4 separate regions of the Homo sapiens genome follow, and all the other regions are linked to region 4. The links are contacts of gene promoters, found by promoter capture Hi-C in human tissues and cell types (Jung and others, 2019). All regions are on one chromosome and are shown on one strand. The core of a region is centred on a gene start or on the middle of the fragment in contact, and the rest is flanking DNA. Distances in the headings are between cores, read along the strand shown.

Region 1 (2,700 bases), core at 201-2,700, 270 kb after region 4:
GTGCACACCTGTAATCCAAGTCTCTCAGGAGGCTAAGGCACGAGAGTAGCTTGAACCCAGGAGGTGGAGATTGCAGTGAGCCAAGATTGCACCACTGCACTCTAGCCTGGGTGACAGAGTGAGACTCCTTCTCAAATTTAAAAAATAAAAAAAAGATTATGCTAGGCCGGGCACAGTGGCTCATGCCTGTAATCCCAGCACTTTGGGAGGCCAAGATGGGAGGATCGCTTGGGCCCAGGACTTTGAGACCAGCCTGGACAACATAGTGAGTTTTTGTCATCTCTACAAAAACTTGGTAGGCTGGGTGTGGTGGCTCACGCCTGTAACCCCAACACATTGGGAGGCCCAGGCGGGTAGATTGCTTGAGCTCAGCAGTTTGAGACCAGCCTGGGCAACATGGCAAAACCCTATCTCTACCAAAAATACAAAAAATTAGCTGGGCATGGTAGCGCATGCCTGTAGTCCCAGCTACTCTGGATGCTAAGGTTGAAGGATGGCTTGAGCCCAGAAGGTGGAGGTTGCAGTGAGCTGAGACTGAGCCACTGCGTTCCAGCCTGGGAGACAGTGTAAGACCGTGTATAACAAAAAAGAGAGAGAAAAAAAGATGATGCTGGAGGCAGCTTTAGTGGGGAAGTGTAAGCCTGGGAGAGGCTTGGGAGGAGGCTGACATTGCACTGATGCATGGCTCAGGGCAGAAGCCATTGGAATGGGGAACTCCTGGGAGTTACCTTTGGAAGTGGCAAAGATCAGAGAACATGTTTAGGAGGGGAACGTGGATATAGAAAGAGGGCATACATGGCAGAGGGTATTACAGAAGCAAAGGCTGGAGTGTAGGACCCTTTTGTAATCAGAAGAGTCAAAAGGTTTTAAAACAATATGTGGATGTTTGCAATTTATTTTATTTTATTTTTGAGACAGAGTCTCACTTTGTCACCCAGGCTGGAGTACAGTGGCATGATCTCAGCTCACTGCAGCCTCGACTTCCTGGGCTCAAGTGATCCTCCCACCTCAGTCCCCCAAGTAGCTGGGATTACAGGCGTGCGCCACCATGCCCGGCTAAGCTTTGTATTTTTTGTAGAGACGGGTCTCACTATATTGCCCAGGCTGGTCTTGAACTCTTGAACTCAAGCGATGCACTCACCTTGGCCTCCCAAAGTGCTAGGATTATAGACGTGAGCCACTGTGCCCGGTCTGCAATTTATTTTTAAATGGTTTAGAAAAGAAGATTGGTAGATTAAGCTAACAATAGTTGAATCTAGGTGGTGGGTATATGAATGGTCAACTTTTCTGTATGTTTGATAGTTCTCATAATAAATGGATTAAAAAAGCAGCTACTAAATACTGTTTAGGTTTAATAAAAACAACAGGCCGGGCGCGGTGGCTCACGCCTGTAATCCCAGCACTTTGGGAGGCTGAGGCAGGCAGATCACCTGAGGTCAGGAGTTTGAGACCAACCTGGCTAACTTGGTGAAACCCCGTTTCTACTAAAAATACAAAAAATTAGCCGGGCGTGGTGGCACATGCCTGTAATCCCAGCTACTCGGGAGGCTGAGCAGGAGAATCGCTTGAACCTGGGAGGTGGAGGTTACAGTGAGCCAAGATCGCGCTATTGTACTCCAGCTTGGGCAACAAGAGCGAAACTTCGTCTCAAAAAACAAAACAAAACAACAACAACGACAAAACAATACTCAAGGGGTGTGGGCCTTTTGGGCAGAGCAGGAAGATCTGCCTATGACTTCTGCTTACCACTTCCCAGGCCTCCTGTGTCACCTGGATGACGCCTGTGTCAGCAACCCCTGCCACGAGGATGCTATCTGTGACACAAATCCGGTGAACGGCCGGGCCATTTGCACCTGTCCTCCCGGCTTCACGGGTGGGGCATGTGACCAGGATGTGGACGAGTGCTCTATCGGTGAGGGGAGCTCCATCGTCTGTGAATGGGCTGGGAAAGAGGGGAGAGGAGGGGGTCCCGGCCAGCCACGCCCACACCGATCGCACTCCATCCGGCAGGCGCCAACCCCTGCGAGCACTTGGGCAGGTGCGTGAACACGCAGGGCTCCTTCCTGTGCCAGTGCGGTCGTGGCTACACTGGACCTCGCTGTGAGACCGATGTCAACGAGTGTCTGTCGGGGCCCTGCCGAAACCAGGCCACGTGCCTCGACCGCATAGGCCAGTTCACCTGTATCTGTATGGCAGGTGGGTGGTGGGCGTGGCCTGGGCGGGTCCTGAGGCAGGGGGCGGGGACAGAGAAGCCCGCGGATGGGGAGCTGAGCAGAATGGGGTGTAAGTGGGTTTGGAGTGGGACCCTTAGAGACTGAAGCCTGGAAGGAGGTGGGGTCAGGACCAGAAGGGAATACTGTGTGATTCTGGGGGCTTGGTCAAATGGAGTCAGTAGAACCTCAGGTGGGCTGGGAGTATTCTTGGCCTTAGGACCCACTCGGGAAGGGGTTGGGGATAGAGAGGCAGAGTCGGGGCTGCTGTGAGGTCAAGGTGAAGCCTGCAGACAAGCTTGCAGTAAGCCTGGGCAAAGGCTATGGGGGGCCCTGGGGCTGGGGGCTGGGGACTGGGGAAAGGGCTTAGTCTGAGGACTGGGGAGAGGAGGAGGGGTTTGAAGGCAAGGCCTCTGCGGACACCCATGAGCCTTGGGCCAGTTGGGACCACGGCTGGGTGACAGTCCAGCCTGTGGCTGAAAATTAAGGT
Region 2 (3,336 bases), core at 520-3,019, 380 kb after region 4:
GTCTCACTCTGTCACCTAGGCTAGAGTACAGTGGCACGATCTCGGCTCACTGCAACATCCGTCTCCTGGGTTCAAGTGATTCTTGTGCCTCAGCCACCCGAATAGCTGGGATTACAGGTGTGCATCACCACGCCCGATTAATTTTTGTATTTTTAGTAGAGACGGGGTTTCGCCTCTACTAAGCCTGTTGGCCAGGCTGGTCTTGAACTCCTGACCCGGTGATCCGCCCACCTTGGCCTCCCAAAGTACTGAGATTACAGGCGTGAGCCCAGTAATCTCATCATTTCAGCGCCCAGCCGATGAAAGGGGTTTTTAGGAAGGTTAGCAGCATAATCTCCTTGGTAACCCCAAGAGGCCTTCAGCAAAGCCCTATGTTAACTTTTTGAGGCTTTTTAGTGTTGGACTTGAGGTTTTTGCAATGCAATGCTTGGTTTTCTCTAGGCTGGATAGAATACTGCGATTCCCTTCCTGGCAACATATTTGTAACAGTCCTCAGTTGTTGACTTGGGTTGCATAGAGCAGCGGTTCTCAACCTTGAGCACGCTTCAGGGTCACCTGGAAGGCTTGTTAAAACACAAAAAGCGGGCCAGGCATGGTGGCTCACACCTGTAATCCCAGCACTTTGGGAGGCTGAAGTGGGAGAATTGCTTGAGGCCAGGAGTTCAAGACCAGCCTGGCAGACAAAGTGAGGCCACCCCACCCCCAATCCCGCCCTGGATCTACAAAAAATAAAACAATCTGCTGGGCATGGTGGCATGCTTCCATAGTCCCAGCTACTCAGAAGGCTGAGGTGGGAGAATCCCTTGAGTCCAGGAGTTAGAGACCAACCTGGGCAACACAGTGAGACCCCCATCTCTACAAAATAAAAAATTAGCTGGACATGGTGGCACACACCTGTTAGTCCCAGCTGCTTGGGGGGCCAAGGTAGGAGGATCTCTTGAGCCCGGGAGTGTGAGACCATCCTGGGCAACATAGGAAGATCCCTGCCTCTACGAAAATAAAATTAGCCAGGCATGGTGGTATATGTCTGTTATCCCAGGTACCCGGGAGGCTGAGGAGGGAGGATCACTTGAGCTTGGGAGGTCGAGGCTGCGATGAGCTATGATAATGCCACTGCACTCCAGACTGGGCAACAGAGCGAGACCCTGTCTCAAAAACAGAAAGAACAAACAAACAAACAAAACAATCCCCCCGCCCCCTCCCCCCCGCTCCCAAACTCATCATACACAAAAAGCTAAGCCCTTTCCCTGAAATGTCTGGTGTAAGAACCAGCACTTCTAGATAGTTTCCAGAGGATGCTGGTGCTTCTAGCCCAGGGACCACACTTGGGGAGCTGCTGCATTGGAGAAACTTGTTTCTCAAGACCTCTCCTATCTGTGCAGGTGTCCTGCAGCTGCAGACCCTCAGTGCTTTTCCTCCACATATCCTGCCACAGAGGGTCTGCCGTCTGCGTGCTTTGTCCACTCAGAGAGTCTAGACTTGGTCTCAGTCTCTTCTCTCTCTCTCGGCCTCTAGGAAGGAGACAGATTCCTCTCCCACAACCCTCCACCCCCACCCTCAGCTCAATCCTTTCCCCATCCCTCACCTGCTCACCAGGATGGCATCACCAAGGGGAGGGTCCCGGGAAGCCTCCTTCTCCACCAACTGCTAGAGGATCCCGAGGTCAGCACTAAACCCCTAGGAAGGGCATGGGGGCTACTCACCTGTGATCGCTGGGGTTAGCCTGATGTCTATGGGAAGGATTCATATGTGTACCCCCCCGCCCCCAGACTCTGCAGGTGAGTGGGGGAGCCAGGGGAACATCAGGGTATTTATAGTCTGGGGACTCTAGGAGACTTCGTCCCCATAGCTCCTTGTTAAGGAAGCGGATGCTAATTATTTTGTTTCTCCTCTGCCACATGTGACCTGTTCTTTTGGAGATGGGTGTGCTTTGGGATCATCGAGTGGGTAAGAAGAGGAAACAGTGACTAGGGATTCACTCTCACTAGGACATCTCCCTACGGTCTCCTTCCAGCTCAGGCTGAGCTTCATGGAAGCTCCCAGGCAGAGAGGTCTGGGGGGTCCCAGACTCCAGTCGGGCACTCAGATGCCTGAATCTGAGAGGTCCTTTCATTCATTGCATTATGGAAGAAACTGGCTCATTAAGGAAAGCTCCGAAGAGTATCAATCAATCAATAAATCGGTATTAAATAAATAAATTTATCAAACACTTTTTTTTGAGATGGAGTGTCACTCTTTCACCCAGCCTGGAGCACAGTGGAGCAATCTCGGCTCACTGCAACCTCCACCTCCTGGGTTCTAGCAATTCTCCCTCCTCAGCCTCTTGAGTAGCTGGAATTACTGGTGCCCACCACCATGCCCAGCTAGTCTTTGTATTTTTAGTAGAGACAGGGTTTCACCATGTTGGAAAGACTGATCTCAAACCTCAAGTGATCTGCTCTCCTCGGTCTCCCAAAGTGCTGGGATTACAGGCCTGAGCCACTGTACCCGGCCTATCAAACACTTCTTGATCACCTGCTTGGCACTGGAGTTGGACACGGTGGCTCATGCCTATAATCCTAGCTACTTGGGAGGCCAAGGTTGGAGAATCCCTTGAGCCTAGAAGTTTGAGACCAGCTTGGGCAAAACAGCAAGACCTTATATCTACAAAAAATTTAAAAAAATTAGCCAGGATTGGTGGCACATGCCCGTGGTCTCAGTTACCCAGGAGGCTGAGGTGGGAGGATCACTTGAGCCCTGGAGGTTGAGGCTGCAGTGAGCTGTGATCGCACCACTGCATTCCAACCTGGACAACGGAGTGAGACCCTGTCTCTTAAAAAAAAAATCCTTCCTATCAGCCACACAGAACGTGTGTAGGATACTTGTTGAAATTCTCCTAGGGGCTTTAGTAAATATTAGAATTACTTTCCCTAATAATATTGGCTGTTGGACTGTTGGCTCTTGGATCGTAACTCTGTGGGGAGGTCAGCTTCAAAGCAAGAACAAGGTAGACCAACTTCGCGTTGGACATATGGGGATATGAGTAGGTGCCAATCCCACTGTCATTATTTTTTTAAAATTAAAATTATTTTCAGAGGCTGGGCATGGTGGTTCACACCTGTAATCCTAGCACTTTGGGAGGCCGAGGCAGGTGGATCAATTTAGCTCAGGAGTTTGAGACCAGCCCGGCCAACATGGTGAAACCCTGTCTCTACTAAAAATACAAAATTAGCTGGACGTGCCTATAGTCCCAACTACTCAGGAGGCTGAGGTGGGAGGATCCCTTGAGCCCGGGAGGTGAAGTTTGCAGCAAGTTGAGATCATGCCACTGCACTCCAGCCTGGGTGACAGAGTGAG
Region 3 (3,590 bases), core at 600-3,099, 420 kb after region 4:
GACGGGATTTCACTGTGTTAGCCAGGATGGTCTTGATCTCCTGACCTCATGATCTGCCCACCTCAGCCTCCCAAAGTGCTGGGATTATAGATGTGAGCCACTGCACCCCACCGGGAATGCTTTTTTTTTTTCTATCTAGATCCTTCTCTGACAATTTTGGTGGCATAATATCTGCTATGCCTTCCCCCATCAACCATCCATTCATCTATGTTTTTATCCATCTATCTATCCAGTCACCCATCAATTCATTCATCTATCCATCTACCATCTATCCATTAATTCATCATCTATCCATCCATTCACCCACTCACCCTTCCATCTATTCATCTGTCCATCTACTTATCTATTAATCAGTCATCCCATCCACCCATCCTTCCACCCGCACATCTATCTAGTCATCCATCAATCCAATTTAACATCCATCCTTTTATTCATCAACCCATCCACCAATTTATCTTTCCACTTACCTATCTATCCACTCATCCATCCATCCATCCACCCACTCACACATCTATTCATCCGTCTGTCTACCCATCTATTAATCAGTCATCCCATATACCCATTCATTCTTCCATCAACCCATTTATCTACCCATCCATCTATCTATCCATCCACTTATTCATCCAACCACTCATTCATTCATCCATCCATCCATCCATTCATCCATTATCTCTCTCTGTCTTCCATCCCTCCATCTATTCTATCTTCCAACTATCCCTCCATCTAGCCCTCCTTCTATCCATTCCTTCATCCATCATCTCTATCTTCCATCTATCCATCCACCTATTTACTTATCCATCTACCCACCCACCCATCCATCCATCCATCCATCAATCCATCCACCCACCCACCCACCTACCCAGCAAATATTTTCTGGGTATCTATTATGTGTTATGCACTTAGAATCCATTAAGTAAGACAGACATGCTCCCTGACTTTCTGTCCTTCTGTAGCTCTAGTCTGTGACAGAAATGAATATTAAATCTCTCTCTCTCTCTCTCTCTCTCACACACACACACTCACACACACACACAGCAAGTGCTGTGACGAAAGAGGAGCCAAAGATTGTGAGGGAGGAAGTGGAAGGAGCATAGCCCTGGAGCCAGAACCGAATCCTGCCTCAGTCCCTTCCCAGCTGTGTGACCTTCGGCATCTCACTCTCCTCTCTGAGACTCGATTTTCCCATCCGCAAAGGACCTGGGGAGAGCTCTAGGTGCTTAACAGCAATGGTGACCCAGGTAGGTTTTAGGATCCCTCTTGACCTCCTGGAACTTTCCTCTTCCTTCTCTGGACTCTCACAGCTCTGCTTGCTCCTACTTGAATTACAGCAGTGTTTTTGATTCTTACTCTCATGGCTGAACTGGCAGCTCAGTTTTCAGGACTGAAAGCCTGACTTCATTATCTCTGTCTCCATCATGGCCAACAGTGTGGCAGGGAGCACAGAGGTGGTGTTGGAGAGAATTTGCTGAGTAAACAAATAAGAAAAAAATGAACAGATGAAAAGAAAGAGGGGATGGATGGAAATTTCTTCCATTCTGCCAAAACTGGCCAGAGCATTAATTCATGAAGGGAGAGGGAGCGTATGTGTGTATGTGCGTGTGTGTGTGTGTGTGTGTGTGTGTGTGTGTGTGAGAGAGAGAGAGAGAGAGAGAGAGAGAGGCTAATATCCACCAAATCACTTACCAACTCTAGAGGCAGCTGTTCCTCAAGGCCAAGTTCAATCTCACTACTCTCCTAGTTGCCAATACTGAGCTGGGCACCGAGGAGGAGTCAGGCCCACGTACTGATCTTGGAGAAGGGGCTGACAGTGTGGAATCTCCCGGGGTTTCTCCTGAGAAGCCTGGTCTATGAATCGGGTGGCACAATCACCTGGCCCTTTATTGTCGGTGAGTTTTCTGTCACTCAAGAAACCTCATGACACACCCTTGGCACACAGCTGTGGTGTGGAAATGGAGCCAACGCCAATGGGATGAGTGATCGCAAGGCTGAGGGGACTCCCTCTGGCAAAGGTGGCCTAGGCAGAGAGTCTAAATGAGTCAGATGTCTGTGCCAGCCCAGCCACAACCTCTCCCAACCCCCATCCCATAGCCAGCCCATCTGGTTATTACCATCATCATTATGCCTAGTTTATTCATCTCACCTTCCACTGTGTAGATAACACCGACTTCACTTAGTTATTATCTCATCGAGTCTTCAAGAGTCTAGACAGATCAGTATTTTTGCTCCCATTTTGCAGATGGAGAAACTGAGGCTCATAGAGGTGAAATGACTGCCCAAGGTCAGCAATTGGCACAGTTGGCATTCAACCCTATAAGGGGTGAGGTGTGGTGGGTCACGTCTGTAGTCCCAGCGCTTTGGGAGGCCAAGGCAGGAGGATCGCTTGAGGTGAGGAGTTTGAGACCAGCCGGGGCATAGTGAGACCCTGTCACTAAAATAATAATAATAATAAAAATGATGGCATATACCTATAGTCCTAGCTACTCAGGAGGCTGAGGTAGGAGGCTGGCTTGAGCCTAGGAGTTTGAGGCTGCAGCGAGCTAAGATTGTGCCTCTGCACTCCAGCCTGGGTGACAGAGCAAGACTCTGTCTTAAATATAAAAACAAACAAACAACCCCTAAAATGTTCCAGCCCAGTTGCCTTAACTGATGCATCATGATGATTCCTCTCTTCCTCCTCCTCTTATTATTTTTCAGCCATTTTGTTTCATTTTATTTCTTATGTTAATAGTGAAACCAAAGGCGAACCTGATTAAGCCCTCCAGACTTAATCTGCCTTGCGTTTAATTGCTTACTTACTTTTAATTGCTTACTTATAGTTGATCTTAAAAGCGCCACTAGCAAGTCACGTAGCCAAATAATGCATAACTAAACTCCCACTGGCTTCCTTACAGATAACATTTTTGTCTGTGGGACACTATAGTAATGGGTGCTTAAAGTTGTTTTTCAGGAACTAGGTAGGAGGCAGCTCTTGTTTAGTTTAAGCCAGTGGAGATCACTGACCCTTCAACTGCACCTATGTGGGTAGCTGATATCAGAGGGCCGTAAACTCCACCTTCAGATCATGCTAAATGCTATTTTTTGCACAAATGTCCTATCTAAAGCCATGTAGCTCAACCATGCTTGCTCAGAAATTCTGATTACCTCACCTTCCCTACCTGCCAGTCACCTTTCTCCGTACTTTAGATCACCCCGTTTTCTATCCCATAAGCACCCTCAAACCCTATTTTTGGGGAGGAGAATTTGAGACCTGTTTTACCACCTCGTCGCTTAATTGCCTCATGAACGAACTCTTCCTCTTCTGCAAAATCTGTCATTACATTGATTGGCTTGCTGCACAGAGGAAGAACAAACTCGGTTCGATAGCAACAGCTTAAATGAGATATAATTTACGTATTATACAATTCACCCACCTGAAGTGTGCAATCCAGTGGGTTTCAATATATTCACAGTGATGCAACCATTGCGTCAGTTCATTTTGGAACATTTTGTTTTTTCTTTTTTCGGAGATAAGATCTGTCACCCAGGCTGGAGTGCAGTGGAGCGATCACAGCTCACTGCAGCTTAAAACTCCTGGGCTTATTCGATCCTTC
Region 4 (3,234 bases), core at 86-2,585:
TATAGACCTCATTTATAAATAATAATAATAATAAGGGCCGGGCACGGTGGCTTACGCCTATAATACCAGCACTTTGGGAGGCCAAGGCGGGCAGATCATTTCAGGTCAGGAGTTCAAGACCAGCCTGACCAACATGGTGAAACCCCGTCTCTACTAAAAATACAAAAAAATTAGGCAGGCATGGTGGTGAATACCTGTAGTCCCAGCTACTCAGGAGGCTGAGTAGGGAGAATCACTTGAATCCGGGAGGCAGAGATTGCAGTGAGCCAAGATCGTGCCACTGCACACCAGCCTGGGAGACAGAGCGAAACTCCTTCTCGATAAATAAATCAATTAATAATAATAAGAGTAATAATAAATCTTGCCATCTTCCAGAAGCCCCCCTTGTACCCTCTTCCCAGCCACCAGTGCCTCCAAAAGAAACTGATACCCTGCTTGTTAGACATGGTTTTGCCTGCTTTAGGACTTTATGTAAATGGAATCACAAAGTGTATACTCTTCATTGTTTTGGGGTTTTTAAATTTATTTATTATTGCTTTTTAGAGATGGGGTCTCCCGAGGGCAGGGAGGGGAAAAAGAAAAAAAAAAGTTAGATATGAGGTCTCCCTATGTCACCCAGACTGGAGTGCACTGCCTATTCACAGGCATGATCACAGCTCACTGCAGCCTCGAACTCCTGGCCTCAAGCGATCCTCCTCCCTCAGCCTCCTGAATAGCTCAGATTACTGGCATTTTATGGCTTTGGTTTTGGTTTTGGCTCAACATTGTTTGTGATTCACCCAAGTTAAATCATTCTTTAGTTTGTTCTCACTGCTGTATGATATTCTGCTGTGCGAAGAGATCACAATTTATTCCTTCTCCCACTAATGGGTACTTAGGCTGCTTCCAATGTGGGGCTATTATGCATTGTGCTGGGGGGGCATATCTATTGGACGTCTACCTAGCAATGGAATTGCTGAGTCAGAGAAGATCCAGCTAGTAGTGTTAGTAGATCCTGCCAAACCGTTTCCCAACATGAGTGAATGGGTCTACACTCCGGCCAACTGTGGATTAGAGTTCTAGGTGCTTTGTATTCTCGCCAGCATTTGTTCAGCCTGTACTCATTTTGCAGAGAAGGCAACGGAGGCTCAGAGAGAGGGGCAAGTGCTGCCTCCCCGTCAGGGAGGCAGTCTGGGTCCTTCTTGCTAGAAGCCTGGTAACCCACCTCCTCTCTTCTCCTCCCTCGAACCTCCAGCAACCTGCCCGCACTGTGCCCTCCCAGCCTGGCTGTGGGGTGGGGTGGGACAGAGAGGGTCACGTGGAGTTGGGTTCCGAGGGAGGAAGCCAGGCGGGGTGCAGACGGCTGCTGATTCTGGGGCTGGTCAGGAAACCAAGGTAAGGGAGGGAGTGGAGGTGGGGGCAGGGGGATTCCTGGAGGCAGAGCTGAGGGTGGGGAGGGGGCCGAGATGAGGGCAGTATGTGGACAGACACTGGGCACTACTGTCACTCTCTCGTCCCCCAGGAGACCCCCCCCCCCAACCATGGACCCACCGTCGCCAAGCCGGACCTCCCAAACCCAGCCCACAGCCACCTCTCCGCTGACTTCCTACCGCTGGCACACAGGGGGCGGTGGGGAGAAGGCGGCTGGAGGGTTCCGCTGGGGCCGCTTTGCTGGCTGGGGCAGGGCCCTGAGCCACCAGGAGCCCATGGTCAGCACCCAGCCAGCCCCTCGCTCGATATTCCGTCGGGTCCTATCTGCGCCTCCCAAGGAGTCACGGACCAGTCGCCTTCGACTCTCCAAGGCCCTCTGGGGGAGGCATAAGAACCCACCGCCGGAGCCAGACCCGGAGCCGGAGCAGGAGGCCCCAGGTACATGGTTCCCCCACCCTGAGCTTGGGCCGGGCTGGGAAGCCGGATGCTTGGGTTTTGTCTGCCTCCGGAGCATCAACCATACAGACACAGGAAGTTGTGGGGAGTGCAAAAGCCCAGCAGGAAGCCGCTGGGGCCCAGCTACCCTGTTCCCTCTTTCCCCCTAAAGAGGGTAGGAGGAGTTGCCGGGGTCCTGTGGGCAGAGGGTCCATCTGAGGAAGGAACAGTGAATGTAAACCCGTGATAGTATTGTCCAGAGGCTAAACGGCTCTTGGCCCCAACGGGTCTCTCCTTCAATGGCTCAGGCCCATCCTTTCCTACCTGGATATCCATCTTCAGCCTGCCTCCTACTCTCCTACCTTCTAGCTTCCGTGTCTTTGTTCTGAGCCCTTAAGCCTCAGCCTCTCCATCAGTTCAGTGAGAATAATGATCTCCATTTTGGAGAGTATATAATTTTATTTGCTCATATTCATTCATTTATTCAAGCAGAGGTTTGTTGAGCTTCTATTGTATGTGCCAGGCCCTGATTTAGGCACTGAGGACACACTAGTGAAAGAGACAGATGACCCTCCCTGCCCCATGGAGCTCACAGTGTAGTGGAATTGACAGGAAATCCATCAACAAGAAAATGACAGATGGGCCAGGCATGATGGCTCACACCTGTAATCCCAGCACTTTGGGAGGCCAAGGTGGGTGGATCACCTGAGCTCAGGAGTTCGAGACCAGCCTGGCCAACATGGCAAAACCCTGTTTCTACTAAAAATACAAAAAAAAAAAAGTATCTAGGCATGGTGGCACATACCTGTACTCCCAGCTACTCAGGAGGCTGAGGCAGGATAATCGCTTGAACCCGGGAGGTGGAGGTTGCAGTGAGCTGAGATTGCACTACTGCACTCCCGCCTGGGCGACAGAGGGAGACTCCATCTCAATGGAAGAAAAAAAAAAAAAAGAAAGAAAAAAAATGACAGATGGTGCTAAGTGTCACACAGGGGGATCTAGAAGAGTAATGGATATCACAAGAATTAGGGCTCAGGAATGTAACACTAGCCTAGGGCCCAGCATTTTTTTTATTTTTTTTTTGAGATGGAGTCTCGCTCTGTTGCCCAGGCTGGAGTGCAGTGGCGCGATCTCGGCTCACCGCAAGCTCCGCCTCCTGGGTTCACGCCATTCTCCTGCCTCAGCCTCCTGAGCAGCTGGGACTACAGGAACCCGCCACCATGCCCAGCTAATTGTTGTATTTCTAGTAGAGACAGGGTTTCACTGTGTTAACCAGAATGGTCTCGATCTCCTGACCTCATGATCCGCCCGCCTCAGCCTCCCAAAGTGCTGGGATTACAGGCGTGAGCCACCGCGCCCGGCCCCAGGCCCAACATATTTTAAGTGATC

What was found. Contacts are between HindIII fragments. The study calls those that stand out against the background at their distance.
Region 1: a contact is called between a fragment that was not itself captured here and the fragment with the promoter of RASAL3 in region 4, in 2 of the 25 tissues and cell types used here (aorta and heart left ventricle).
Region 2: the fragment with the promoter of OR1I1 here is called in contact with the fragment with the promoter of RASAL3 in region 4 in 3 of the 25 tissues and cell types used here (heart left ventricle, heart right ventricle and small bowel).
Region 3: the fragment with the promoter of CASP14 here is called in contact with the fragment with the promoter of RASAL3 in region 4 in 2 of the 25 tissues and cell types used here (IMR-90 fibroblasts and heart left ventricle).

Annotation. Positions count from the first base shown.
Region 1 is chr19:15,188,485-15,191,184 of GRCh38, reverse strand. It overlaps NOTCH3 (notch receptor 3), which reads left to right. Exons shown (of 33, transcript NM_000435.3): 7 at 1,757-1,912; 8 at 2,011-2,196. Among named protein-coding and RNA genes, the nearest start is that of MIR6795, 10 kb to the right of the region's middle. The HindIII fragment of the contact is 6,552 bases long and covers 1-2,700 here.
Region 2 is chr19:15,080,644-15,083,979 of GRCh38, reverse strand. It overlaps OR1I1 (olfactory receptor family 1 subfamily I member 1), which reads right to left and starts at 1,769. Exons shown (of 2, transcript NM_001004713.2): 1 at 1,704-1,769. The HindIII fragment of the contact is 16,029 bases long and covers 1-3,336 here.
Region 3 is chr19:15,047,739-15,051,328 of GRCh38, reverse strand. CASP14 (caspase 14) reads right to left here and starts at 1,849. Exons shown (of 7, transcript NM_012114.3): 1 at 1,684-1,849. The HindIII fragment of the contact is 29,360 bases long and covers 1-3,590 here.
Region 4 is chr19:15,462,645-15,465,878 of GRCh38, reverse strand. RASAL3 (RAS protein activator like 3) reads left to right here and starts at 1,335. Exons shown (of 18, transcript NM_022904.3): 1 at 1,335-1,374; 2 at 1,502-1,848. The coding sequence starts at 1,521. RefSeq lists enhancers at 992-1,101, 1,742-1,871, 1,972-2,111. The HindIII fragment of the contact is 13,394 bases long and covers 1-3,234 here.